Linked DNA regions of Homo sapiens: region 2 is linked to region 1. Evidence: promoter capture Hi-C in human tissues and cell types (Jung and others, 2019). All regions are on one chromosome and are shown on one strand. The core of a region is centred on a gene start or on the middle of the fragment in contact, and the rest is flanking DNA. Distances in the headings are between cores, read along the strand shown.

What was found. Contacts are between HindIII fragments. The study calls those that stand out against the background at their distance.
Region 2: a contact is called between the fragment with the promoter of ABHD16B here and a fragment that was not itself captured in region 1, in 1 of the 25 tissues and cell types used here (lymphoblastoid cells).

The regions. Positions count from the first base shown.
Region 1 is chr20:63,209,474-63,215,043 of GRCh38, reverse strand. It overlaps YTHDF1 (YTH N6-methyladenosine RNA binding protein F1), which reads left to right. Exons shown (of 5, transcript NM_017798.4): 3 at 1,101-1,180. Among named protein-coding and RNA genes, the nearest start is that of YTHDF1, 3.9 kb to the left of the region's middle. The HindIII fragment of the contact is 5,349 bases long and covers 1,271-5,570 here.
Region 2 is chr20:63,858,713-63,864,285 of GRCh38, reverse strand. ABHD16B (abhydrolase domain containing 16B) reads right to left here and starts at 2,788. Exons shown (of 1, transcript NM_080622.4): 1 at 1,298-2,788. The coding sequence starts at 2,745. The coding sequence ends at 1,336. It overlaps ABHD16B-AS1 (ABHD16B antisense RNA 1), which reads left to right. Exons shown (of 2, transcript NR_165314.1): 2 at 16-3,071. RefSeq lists an enhancer at 59-288. The HindIII fragment of the contact is 14,540 bases long and covers 1-5,573 here.

The sequences.
Region 1 (5,570 bases), core at 2,696-5,195:
GTGTAACCAAATACGGTTCATCGTGTTTTAAGATTGGAAAAGGCCCAGCACTTTATTTACCTTTGCTTGCTTTTTCTGGCTGAGCATAATAACAGTGGGAAGGTAAGTGGTGTAAAAGGAAAACCAGTCTTGGGGCACCCAAATCACTGAGCCAAAGGGAGAAAGCTACGCTGAGAACTGCTGAGGGCAAACCTGCCTCCCATTCTATTCCTGAAAAAGATAGCTTCTAAGACAAAAAAAGTTACATACTTCCCCCACAGTTTGCCCACAAGGAAATTCCTGGTGGACAAAGGACAGAACTCAGAGTCATTCCTGCTCACTGAGATAAATGCTTATCTGATTGCTTCCTTTGGAAAGGCTAATCAGAAACTCGAAAGAATGCAGCCGTTTGTCTCTTATCTACCTATGACCTGGAAGCCCCCTCCCTGCTTCAAGTTGTCCCGCCTCTCCGGACCAAACCAATGTACATCTTACATTGATGGTTCTCATGTCTCCCTAAAATGTATAAAACTAAGCTGTCCCCCGACTACCTTGGGCACATGTTGTCAAGACCTCCTGAGGTTGTATCATGGGTGTGTCCTTAACCTTGGCAAAATAAATTTTCTAAATTAACTGAGACCTGTCTCAGATATTTGGGGTTCACTGTGGAGAGTCAGATAATAGCTCCCAACAGTCCTTCAGTTGCAGCCCCTTCCCTCCTAAGTTTTCTTCCCTCCGTTCTCCATACGTTTGGGCATACATTCTGCATTTGGGCTTTTGGAGGCTCCACTTCTTTTTGCCACACATAAGTCTTCTTAGACCATGTCAGTTTTCACCCTGGTTATGTGTTCCTTGCATTATGTGTTAACACTTGATTTGGTTAATCTCACCAAATTACGATTAAGCCTTTATTTAAAATTTATCCTAAATTATTGAAAGTTTCCCGTCCCCCTTCTAATTAGTTGTATAAACATCAGTTCTATACTGGTTGTACTCCTTTTAAAATTAAAGCATAATTTCTGCTAGAAATAGATGGAAATAGACTTTGCTAACTTTGCCTTCCAAGCTTAAAAGTAATCTTTTAAAATTTGAGGGTAATATTTTGCAACTTTTTGTTCTAGTACAAAATGGTTCGTTACATCAGAAGGATACAGTTCATGACAATGACTTTGAGCCCTACCTTACTGGACAGTCAAATCAGGTGAGTTTATTTTGTTAGCATATATTTGTTTTTAAGTTGGTTTTAATTGTTTTGTACCTTTACTGTCATTTCTGATTTTTAAATTATCCTAAACAACAAAGCAGCAGACTATAAAGTATTAGGAATGATAGACTGCTCATGAAGATGTGACTCCTGTTAACCTTGGGCATCAGTGGGGTGAAAATGATTTTCCCTGTGGAGGAGGCGGCATCCCACTGGGGCTGGGATGCAAACAGGTCTAGTTGGCTCTAGTGTTTGTGGGTCAGTGGTGTGTCTTGCCTTTGACGCAGTGGAGGTGTGTGTGTGTTTCTGAAGCTTCCTGGTTATTCTTAGCTCTGGATGATTGGAATTGTGGTCTGGGGAGGCAGCTAAGAGCTGGGCTGTGGAGCGACTGTGGAGCCAGAGGCCGCCTGGGTTTCAGTCCTTTTTTTGAGACAGCGTCTCACTCTTGCCACCCAGGCTGGAGCGCAATGGCGTGATCTCAGCCTGCTGCAGCCTCTGCCTCCCGGGTTCAAGCATTCCTCCTGCCTCAGCCTCGGGAGTAGCTGGAATTGCAGGCACCCACTACCACGTCTAGCTAATTTTTGTATTTTTAGTAGAGACGGGGTTTCACCATGTTGGCCAGGCTGGTCTCAAACTCCTGACCTCAGGTGATCCACCCGCCTCGGCCTCCCAGAGTGCTGGGATTATAGGCGTGAGGCACCGCGCCCAGCCTGGTTTCAATTTTAACTCCACCACTGACTGGCCTGTGTCCATGGCTTGCCTTCTCTTGCCTCAATTTCCTTTTCTGTAGAAGAGAGAGAGTAGTAACTGTTTGTAGAATTGTTGGGAGGATGACATCAGATGGTGCACATAAAGCGCTGAGACAGTACCTGATACAGCAGGGCCCAGTGAGTCATAGCTGCCCTGTTTTCTTAGGTAATTCAGGCTTTCTCTGCCTTGGCACTGTGGACATTTTGCACGGGAACATTCTGTTTTGGGGGCTGTCCTGTGCATTGTTGGATGTTTAGCAGCCTCCCTGGCTTCCCACCCACTAGATGCCATTAGCAACTCCTTCTCCCCATCCCCAGTTGTAGCAAGCAAAACTGTCTTGGTGGATGTTTTTTGGGGGATACAGTTGCCCTGGTTAAAATCTACTGGGAGCTGCTCTCTCTCCTCTGTGCTGCTGTTGCAGCAAAACTCCCAAGAGAAGCGGTATCTGTTTATGTCTAAGAGTCCAACTCGGGAATCAGACTTCCCCTGCCTCACTTTCCTACCTCCAGGCCGTTGGCTTGGATGAGGGGCTGCACCTCTGTGAGCTCCTCACTTTGGTGAGCAGGCCTCATGGGGCAGCACAAAGCAGATGCTCTGAGTGCTCCATTTCGTGTGCTGTGATTCACATTCCTTCCTCCGCCACTCCAAGTAGCCCTCAGCTACTGGGCATGTTTACTTTAAAGTAAAACCAGGCTTCACCTCTTCTCTGTGAAGGAATAAAACTAGTCTGCCCTTTTCTGAGGTGTCTTAGAACTTCTTAGAATGTTCCTTCATCCCCCTCCCTCCTACTGCACTTGGCGAATCAAGCAGCTTAGAGACCAAGAAACCTTGTACAGGTGGAGCCTCGGCAGCGCTGCCCCGCGCTCCGACCCTGCTTCTGTTTCTTGTCTCTTGGTTGCCTTCTGAGAATCTGCCCTTCCTCTGGGCAGAACTGACTTGACTTTAGTGATGGGCCTTTGGATAGAGGTAATGGCAGGAAGTTAACTAATTTTTTGAATTTCTTGTTTTCTAGTGTGTTCTTATTATTTTAGTACTTTAATGGTATTATGTACTGAATTTTAGCCAATAAAGGGGGAGGGAGGTTGCATCAGTACACTTAAAAGTGTGTGTGTGTGTGTGTGTGTGTGTGTGTGTGTGTGTGTGTGTGTGTATTTTGGAGACAGGGTCCTGCTGTTACCCAAGCTAGAGTTCAGGGGCATGATTATAGCTCACTGTAGCCTCAAATTCCTGGGCTTAAGCAATCCTCCTGCCTCAGCCTCCTGAATAGCTGGGACTACAGGCATGCACCACTACACCTGGTGATTGATTGATTGGTTGGTTGTAGACACAGGGTCTCTTTGTGTTGCTCAGGCTAGTCTTGAACTTCTGGGCTCAAGTGATCTTCCTGCTTTGGCCTCCCAAAGTGCTAGGATTACAGGTATGAGCCACTGTGCCCAGCCAAAAATATTTTTATAAAGTCGGAGCTTTTGTGTTGTTTGGGAGGATTTCTTTACAAATCGATTATTTTTATGTCAGTGGGTGTCTTAGCTCCATATGTAGAGTATACAGTATGGTTTTATAACTTTTGATTTACACAGACATACCTTTGGAGCCATGGCCACAGTTAAGATAGTGGGCATATCAATAGCTCTGGGTCCTTTTTTGTTGGAGACAGGGTCTCACTCCATTGCCCAGGCTGGAGTGCATGATGTGATCATGGCTCACTGCAGCCTCGACTTCCCAGGCTCAGGTGATTCTCCCACCTCAACCTCCCAAGTAGCTAGGACTACAGGCATGTGCCACCACGCCCAGCTAATTTTTAAATTTTTAGTAGACATGAAATATTGCTGTGTTGCCCAGGCTGGTCTTGAACTCATGGGCTCAAGCAATCCACACGCATCAGCCTCCCAAAGTGCTAGGATTATAGGCATGAGCCACTAGTGCCCAACCTAACCCTGGGTACTTAAAAGAGAAAAATCTAGATATGGTTTGTAGTAGCCAGTTGGAGGCTACCGTGTTTTGTGTGAAACTGTCATACTTAGAATGGTTTAGAAAGTCTTAGGAGAATGCCTGCCTGTTAGGTTGGTTTAACTTGTAATGGGCTGTGAGGGGTTGTTGCCGTGTGGTGGGGGTCCTTCCCTCAGAGAGGCCTCACCCGCCTTGCTGTGCTTCTGGTGCTAGAGTTTCAGTCCTAGTTGCCCCTGAGGCGCTTGCGACTGTAGCCGCTCAGTATCTGTCTTCTAGTCTGTGACTTGAATGGGAGTTGGGGGAGCAGAGGAACTGGGAGTGAAGGGCTCTGGGTTGGGCTTGATTGTTGTGATTTTCTCTCTTTTTTTGTTTTTTGAGATGGAGTTTCGCTCTTGTTGCCCAGGATGGAGTGCAGTGGCGCGATCTCAGCTCACTGCAGCCTCCACCTCCCTGGCTCAAGTGATTCTCCTGCCTCAGCCTCCCGAGTAGCTGGGATTACAGGCACGCGCCACCACGCCTGGCTAATTTTTTTTGGTATTTTTAGTAGGGACGGGGTTTCTCCATGTTGGTCAGGCTGGTCTCGAACTCCCGACCTCTGGTGATCCCCCTGCCTCAGCCTCCCACAGTGCTGGGATTACAAGCATGAGCCACAGTGCCCCGCCGATTCTCTCTTTTGAGGCTTTTCCTGCTCGGGGACTTCTGGTTTCCCAGTTCTCTGTTGTTTTCTGAAAGGAAAGACTGTGAAATGACCCAGAACAGTTCCTACTCAGAGTTTAGAAGACACTGTCTTGGCATGATGCCTGAGTTGGGAATAGATGCCGCTGGCCCCCCAGGCTTCCTGCACACTCCCTGACCAACAGACTGAGTGTGTTTGCTGTGATCCCACTGACAGAAATTACCAAGGCCATCTGGGCATGCCTGTACCTGTGCTGCCGGATGCAGTTTGGTCAGCAACAGACCACAATATGATAGTGGTCCCATAAGACTATGATGGTGCTGAAAAATTCCTGGCACCTGGTGACGTTGGAGCTACCATGTTGAGGGCAGTGTATTACTCGTGTCTGTGGTGCTGCAGTAGGTGTGACCAAACCTACTGCCCCAGTCATACCAGAGTATACACCTACAGTTACGTACAGTACCATACAGTACGTAATAATTGATGATAAACGACTGTTACTACTTTGTGTATTTGCTATACTTTTAAGAGCATATTCTGCCTACTTACTAGAAACAAAGTCAACTGTAAAGCAGCCTCAGGCAGGTTCTTCAGGAGGAATCCAGAAGAAGGCAATTGGTGTGACAGGAGATGACAGCTCCATGTGTGTTGTTGCCCCTGAATACCTTCCAGTGGGGCAAGATGTGGAGGTGGAAGATCCAGACCCTGTGTAGGCCTAGGCTAATATGTGTTTTTTGTGTCTTTTTGGGTTTTTGGTTTTTTTGTTTTGTTTTGTTTTGAGGCAGGGTCTCTCCCTCACCTGGGCGGAAGTGCAGTCATGACTCATTGCAGCCTTGACCTCCTGGGCCCAAGTGATCTTCCTGCCTTATTTTTGATTTTTTGTAGAGATGGGGTCTCACTGTGTTGCCTGGGCTGTTCTCGAAATCCTGGGCTGAAGCAGTCCTCCTGCCTCGGCCTCCCAGAGGGCTGGGATTATAGGCATGAGCCACTGTGCCTGGCCGTGTCTTCATTTAT
Region 2 (5,573 bases), core at 1,539-4,038, 650 kb before region 1:
CTCCCCACTCCACAGATGAGGAAGCTGAGGTTAAAGTCACTTGCCCCAGGTCACTCCGCAAGTTGAAGCGCAACCAGGATACTCTGGAACAGGATGCCTGACTTCAGAGGAGAGGCGCGTAACCACCAGGCAACTGGCCCCACGAAAACAAGTCCCGCAACTTCCCTTCTTTGGCTCCTACTTGCTCCCGGAAGAAAAGCCTTAAACGGTATTCAAGCCCTTTAGGATCTGATGTCCTAGGACTCCACTCTGGGCTTCCAGCCTGGGGTGGTACTGGTCCCTAGGCATGGAAGCTCCTCCCACTGCCCCTTCCTTCACCCGGCCACCTCCTCCCACAGGTGTCTTCCTGGTACTCTTGCACAGGCCCGAGTCCCTTACCACCACGGCCTTAGCCTGCTCTCGTGCTCTCAGTAATGTTTTCTCCATTTGCTGCCTTTCATTCTTTCCAGAGATTCTTGCTCAACCCAACCAGGCCAGCCCGGGGACTAGGGACATGTAGGGACAATAGTCCCTGCTTCAGGCAGTTCAGGGCAGACCACAGAGATGTGACATTACAGACCATTGTGAGCAGAGGCCTTGTCCCATTCTGTGTTGCATCCCTAAGCCAGGAACAAAGTCCAGCCCAGGCCTGGCTCCAGGGGACACGCAGTAGTATCCTCTGGCCTGTGCAAGTGTATCTGTAGCCTCACATGCCACCATGTGAGTCTGCAATCTGTCTGTGAATGCCCTGGTGTAGAAGCCAGGAGTTTGGAGGTGGGAGGGAGCCCTACAGAATGATAGCCAGTGCTAACTCCTGGGAATGTCCAGCCACTAAGACCTGCCCACAGCCCTGCCATGCCAATGTCCTCCTTTTCACGGGAGCAGCTTGCACAGACTTTCAGCGCACAGCTGGCATTGTCTTCCCAGGAGCCATCCTGTAACCCAGGCCAGGTGAAGGGCTCCTCCCTGGGACCCCACAGCCCCGTTCCCATCATCCTTTTGTGGTGATCAAGGCACCCATCACACAGTATTGCCATAAACCGGGTCAGGTTAACCTTTCATTCCCTTAGGAGCTGGGTGGGGGCAGCCAAAAGTATTTGTAGGAGGAAGAGAGAAAGGAGGGGACAGAGCTAGGAAGAATGGGAGGACGGTCAGAACGCCCCTGTGAAGGAAGGAGAGCACCAAGTCCCCGTGTTCTGCCTACCCTCCCCCAGACAGCAGATCAGGAGCACCCCGCGCGCCCCCCCCCGCCCCGCCCCGCGTCGGCGCCGGCCCCCTGCAATGGTTGGCGGTATGGGGAGGTGAACCAAGAAGGCCAGGAGTTCAAGTGCGTGATCCCCCACTGGGGCATATAGGTTACAGCCGCCAGGGCAACTGAAACTCCTCAGGCTCCAGAGGGCTGAAGTGAGTCGCCTCCACGTTCTTGAGGTGCTTCCGAGCCAGGAACAGTGCGAGGCGCCGGCGCCGCCGCGAGCTCAGGCCCTGGCCCACCAGCCATGGGAAGGCGGGTCCGTGTGGCCCCAGGGCCTCCTCGCCCTCCAGCTCCTCTTCGCAGCGTGCACGGTAGGAGCGCAGCAGCGCCAGGCACCAGTCCTCGTCCACGCGGTAGCGTGCATAGAAGGCGGCCTCCTGCGCCAAGCTGCCAGCGCGCAGCCAGCGGGTGACGACGGCGCGGCCCTCTCGCGCCATCACGACGGGGTAGCGGTGCTCCAGCAGGCGCAGCAGCAGCTCATTGCCCCGGTTGCCCTCCACGTCACCAGGTGACAGGGGGCGCAGGCGGCCCGAAGTGCTGACCACGTCATCCTGCGTGCGTCGGAGCAGCAGCACCGGCCCCGGGTAGCAGCACAGCTGCTCGGCCACGTTGAGGTTGAAGTGCTCGCGCACGGTGCGCACCACCAGCCCCTTCCAACTGTGGGGCATGACCTTCAGCGCCAGCGGCACAAGGTCGTCGAAGGTGGCGTCCAGCACCAGTGCACCCAGCTCCGGGTAGGTCATGGTGGCCCAGGTGGCCGTGAAGCCGCCAACAGACCAGCCGTAGACCACCAGGTGCGCGGGCGGGAAGTGCAGGCGGTGCAGTGCGTACTCGACCACCACGTCCATGGCGTTGGCGTCGTGCTGAGGGAAGGGCACGCCAGTGCTGCTGCCGAAGCCGGGGTGGTTCCAGCCCAGCACGGAGTAGCCGGCCTCGAGCGGTGCAGACAGACAGCCCATCTCGTAGAAGCCCGCGTTGCCTTCGCAGCAGATGACGAGGCGCGGCCCGTGCACGTGGCTGCCCGGGTGCTGGCGGCGGTCCATGAACATAGTGTCGATCTCGTTGCCGTCACAGGCCACCAGCTTGGCGCGCCGGCCGTGGTAGCGCTCCACGAGGCGCTCTTGGCCCTGCTGCAGCAGCGGCAGCAGCGCGCGCGTCATCAGGGACACGGAGCCGGGGTACACGAGCCAGCGGCCCAGCGAGTGGGCCAGCGCGTAGCTAGCGAGCTGGCCGGGCAGCTCGCGGAGCTGCTGCAAGAGGCACTGCGCCTGGCTGCGCGCCCCACGTGGAGGCCGCCCCAGCGCATCCCCGCCCAGCGTCTCGTCCCGCAGCAACCACACGCCCGCCGCGGCTGCCGCGCAGGTCAGCGCCCGGTGGCTGCTGCTCCGGCCCACGGCGCGCACGTCATCCCAGCGGAAGGCCACGGGCCAGCCGCGGAATGGGTAGGTGTAGCTGGCGGTCAGGTAGATCTTGAACACGCGCACCAGCGCCTTCACGAAGCAGATGACGCACATGAGCGGTGGCCCTAACGCCCAGCCGCTGGGCCGGGATCGCCGCGAGAGGCACAGGGCAGTCTTAGGGGATACCGGCTCCCGGACAAGCCCTGATGGCCTTTGTGACCTGGCCTTCCAGGGCGGAGGGAAGGCTGCATCCTGTTGCTAGGTGATGGGTGCACAAAGGGTTCCCAGAGATGATGAACCCAAGGTTCTGCCCGTCCCCCGCCTTCGCCAAGACCCCACCAGCTAAACGCTCCCAGGCCCAGCTTTCCCACCCATGATTTGAGCAGCTACTGTCTCCCTCTTTCTTCCTTATTTATTTATTAAATTGAGATGGGGTCTCACTATGCTGCCTAGGCTGGTCTTGAACCCCTGGGCTCAAGCGATCCTCCCGCCTCCACCTCCCACAGTGTTGGGATTACAGGTGTGAGTCCCTGCACCCCGCCTCCACCTCCCACAGTGTTGGGATTACAGGTGTGAGTCCCTGCACCCCGCCTCCCTCTTCCTTAAATTTAAGATGGACAGCCCCACGGGCCAAAAAGGGACAGCAAGGCCTCCTCCGCCTGTACCAGGCTTGCTGTGGGTCCTGCAAGTTTCCCTTCAGGGTCTGCTGGTTTAAACCTCATCTCCCCAGGACGGCCGGGGTCAGAGACAGGGCTGCTGCTGCACCAAAAAGGCGGTATTTGCTCTCGGCCCGGCCCCTCCTCTCCACACCTTCCTTCTTCGGTGCTGACCAGAAACAAGCCCTCTCCTTTTCTGGATCCTCTTTTCACTGGCTGCCAGCAACAGCAGTGACCTTCTGGGGCGGGTCCTGCCTGGCTGGGGTTCCTCTTTCTCGCTCCTGGGTCGAGCCCCCACTCCCAGGCTGCGCCTCCCTCTTTTCTGGAGAGGTATCTTTTCTCCTGCCCTGGAAAGGGCCAGCCCACCTGAGGGCAGGGTCGGAAGCCGCCTGCCAGGAGGAGCCCCAGGGAAGAGGGCAGCTCCAGGTACTCAACAGCTCCCCAGACCAGAAACAAACATGCTACAATCAGGGAGTTTGGCAAATCCAGCCAGAGCCTCTGAGCCCAGGTGCCAGGCCCGCCTGGGACCCCAGCCTTCTGGGGAAGGGGTAGTTTCAGGCTGAAGCACCCCCTCTCTGCTCTCCTGCTCAGCGTCTGGGTTAGAGGCACTGCCTGACCCTAACAGGCCCCGCCCCTAGTTGGGGGAGTCAGCTGCTGCCTTTAGGGGTTGGGGGACAGAAGACAGGGACCAATTAACAAAGGGAGCGATTTGGGGGGCTATTACCCCCATTCTAGGTTGCCAGATAAAATACAGAATAATATGCCAGTTAAATTGGAATTACAAATAAACAAATACTTTTTGGGTATAAGTATGTTCCAACTTCTGCTTGAGACATTATTTTAAAATTGTTTATCTGAAATTCAAATTTAACTGGATATCCTGTTTTTTCTGTTTGTTTGTTTGTTTGTTTTTGAGACGGAGTCTCACTCTTGTCGCCCAGGCTGGAGTGCAATGGTGCAATCTCAGCTCACTGCAACCTCTGCCTCCTGGGTGTTCAAGCAATTCTCCTGCCTCAGCCTCCCAAGTAGCTGGGATTACAGGTGCCCGCCACCATGCCCGGCTAACTTTTTGTACTTTTAGTAGAGATGGGGTTTCACCACGTTGGTCAGGCTGGCCTCTAACTCCTGACCTCAGGTGGATCACCCGCTTTGGCCTCCCAAAGTGCTGGGATTACAGGCAGGAGCCACCGCACCCGGTCTAGATATACCCTGTTTTTAAATTTGTTTTTGTTTTGCTAAATCTGGCAGTCCTACCCCCAGGCACACACACAGTTGAGATCCAGATTTTCCTGGTTATCCAGCTTTGATCTCCGATTGGCTACTGTGCTCATTGGTCAAAGCCTGAGGACAAAGAGGGTGTCTCAGGGTCCACTGGTGCACCTGTCACACCATCCTTTCCACTGGGTCCTGGGCAGCAACAGGAGCCCTGCCCCAGGAGGAAACACACAGGGTACTGCCCCTGCAGCCAAGGGATGGGCAAGGCTTCCCCTGGGGATTGGTGGTTCTGGTCCTGCTCAAGTGTCCACCCCTGACCCTGTGGGGAAAGGAGCCTGGTGGATAGGGGTGGGGATGGAAACTTCTGCAGAGGGTGGGAGATGATTCCTTTCCCAGGAGCCTCTTTCATAAACTCAGCGGCTGCCTACTCTAGGCAGGTTGGGGCTGTGGGCCCAAAGGCTACCGGCCCATTTTGTGTGAGACCACAGGAGTGAACCCAGCAGCAGAGCCGAAGTTCTGACAGGAGGTGTCCCTGCCACCTCAGTTCAGATCCTGGCAGCGGCAGGAGTCCTGGAGGACTGTCCACGCAGGATGTTGGACGCACTAAACCTTATTTTGATTCCCCTGAGCAGATCCTGCTTGGAGGAGCCTCGTCCTCCTGGGGGCAGTCTCCCAGCTTGATCTGCTCTGGGACTTGTTTGGAAATGCAGGCTTTTCTTTAGCCAGGCCCACCTGCCCTTAGCTTCCCCCACAACAACCCACCCACACACACACACAGAGCAGGAAGTTCTTGAGAGGAGGAGGGGAGAGCCTGGGACCGGATTCTGAGGGGCAGAGGTCAGCGGGCTGGAGCCGCTGGCCCCCAGGGGTTCCATGCCTCATCCTGTGTCTGGCCCAGCCCCTGATCCCACCAGCCCACGGGAGTCCAAGTGCCCCAGAACCCCCGGCTCTGTTGAGACAGGAAAGCATGTGACAGGAAGGGAGCTGTCCCCTCTCCAGAAGAGCCCCCAGACGACCAGCTGCAGCAGCCATGACCTCTTGTGCCTCCACCGCCATCAGCTCAGGGAAGTG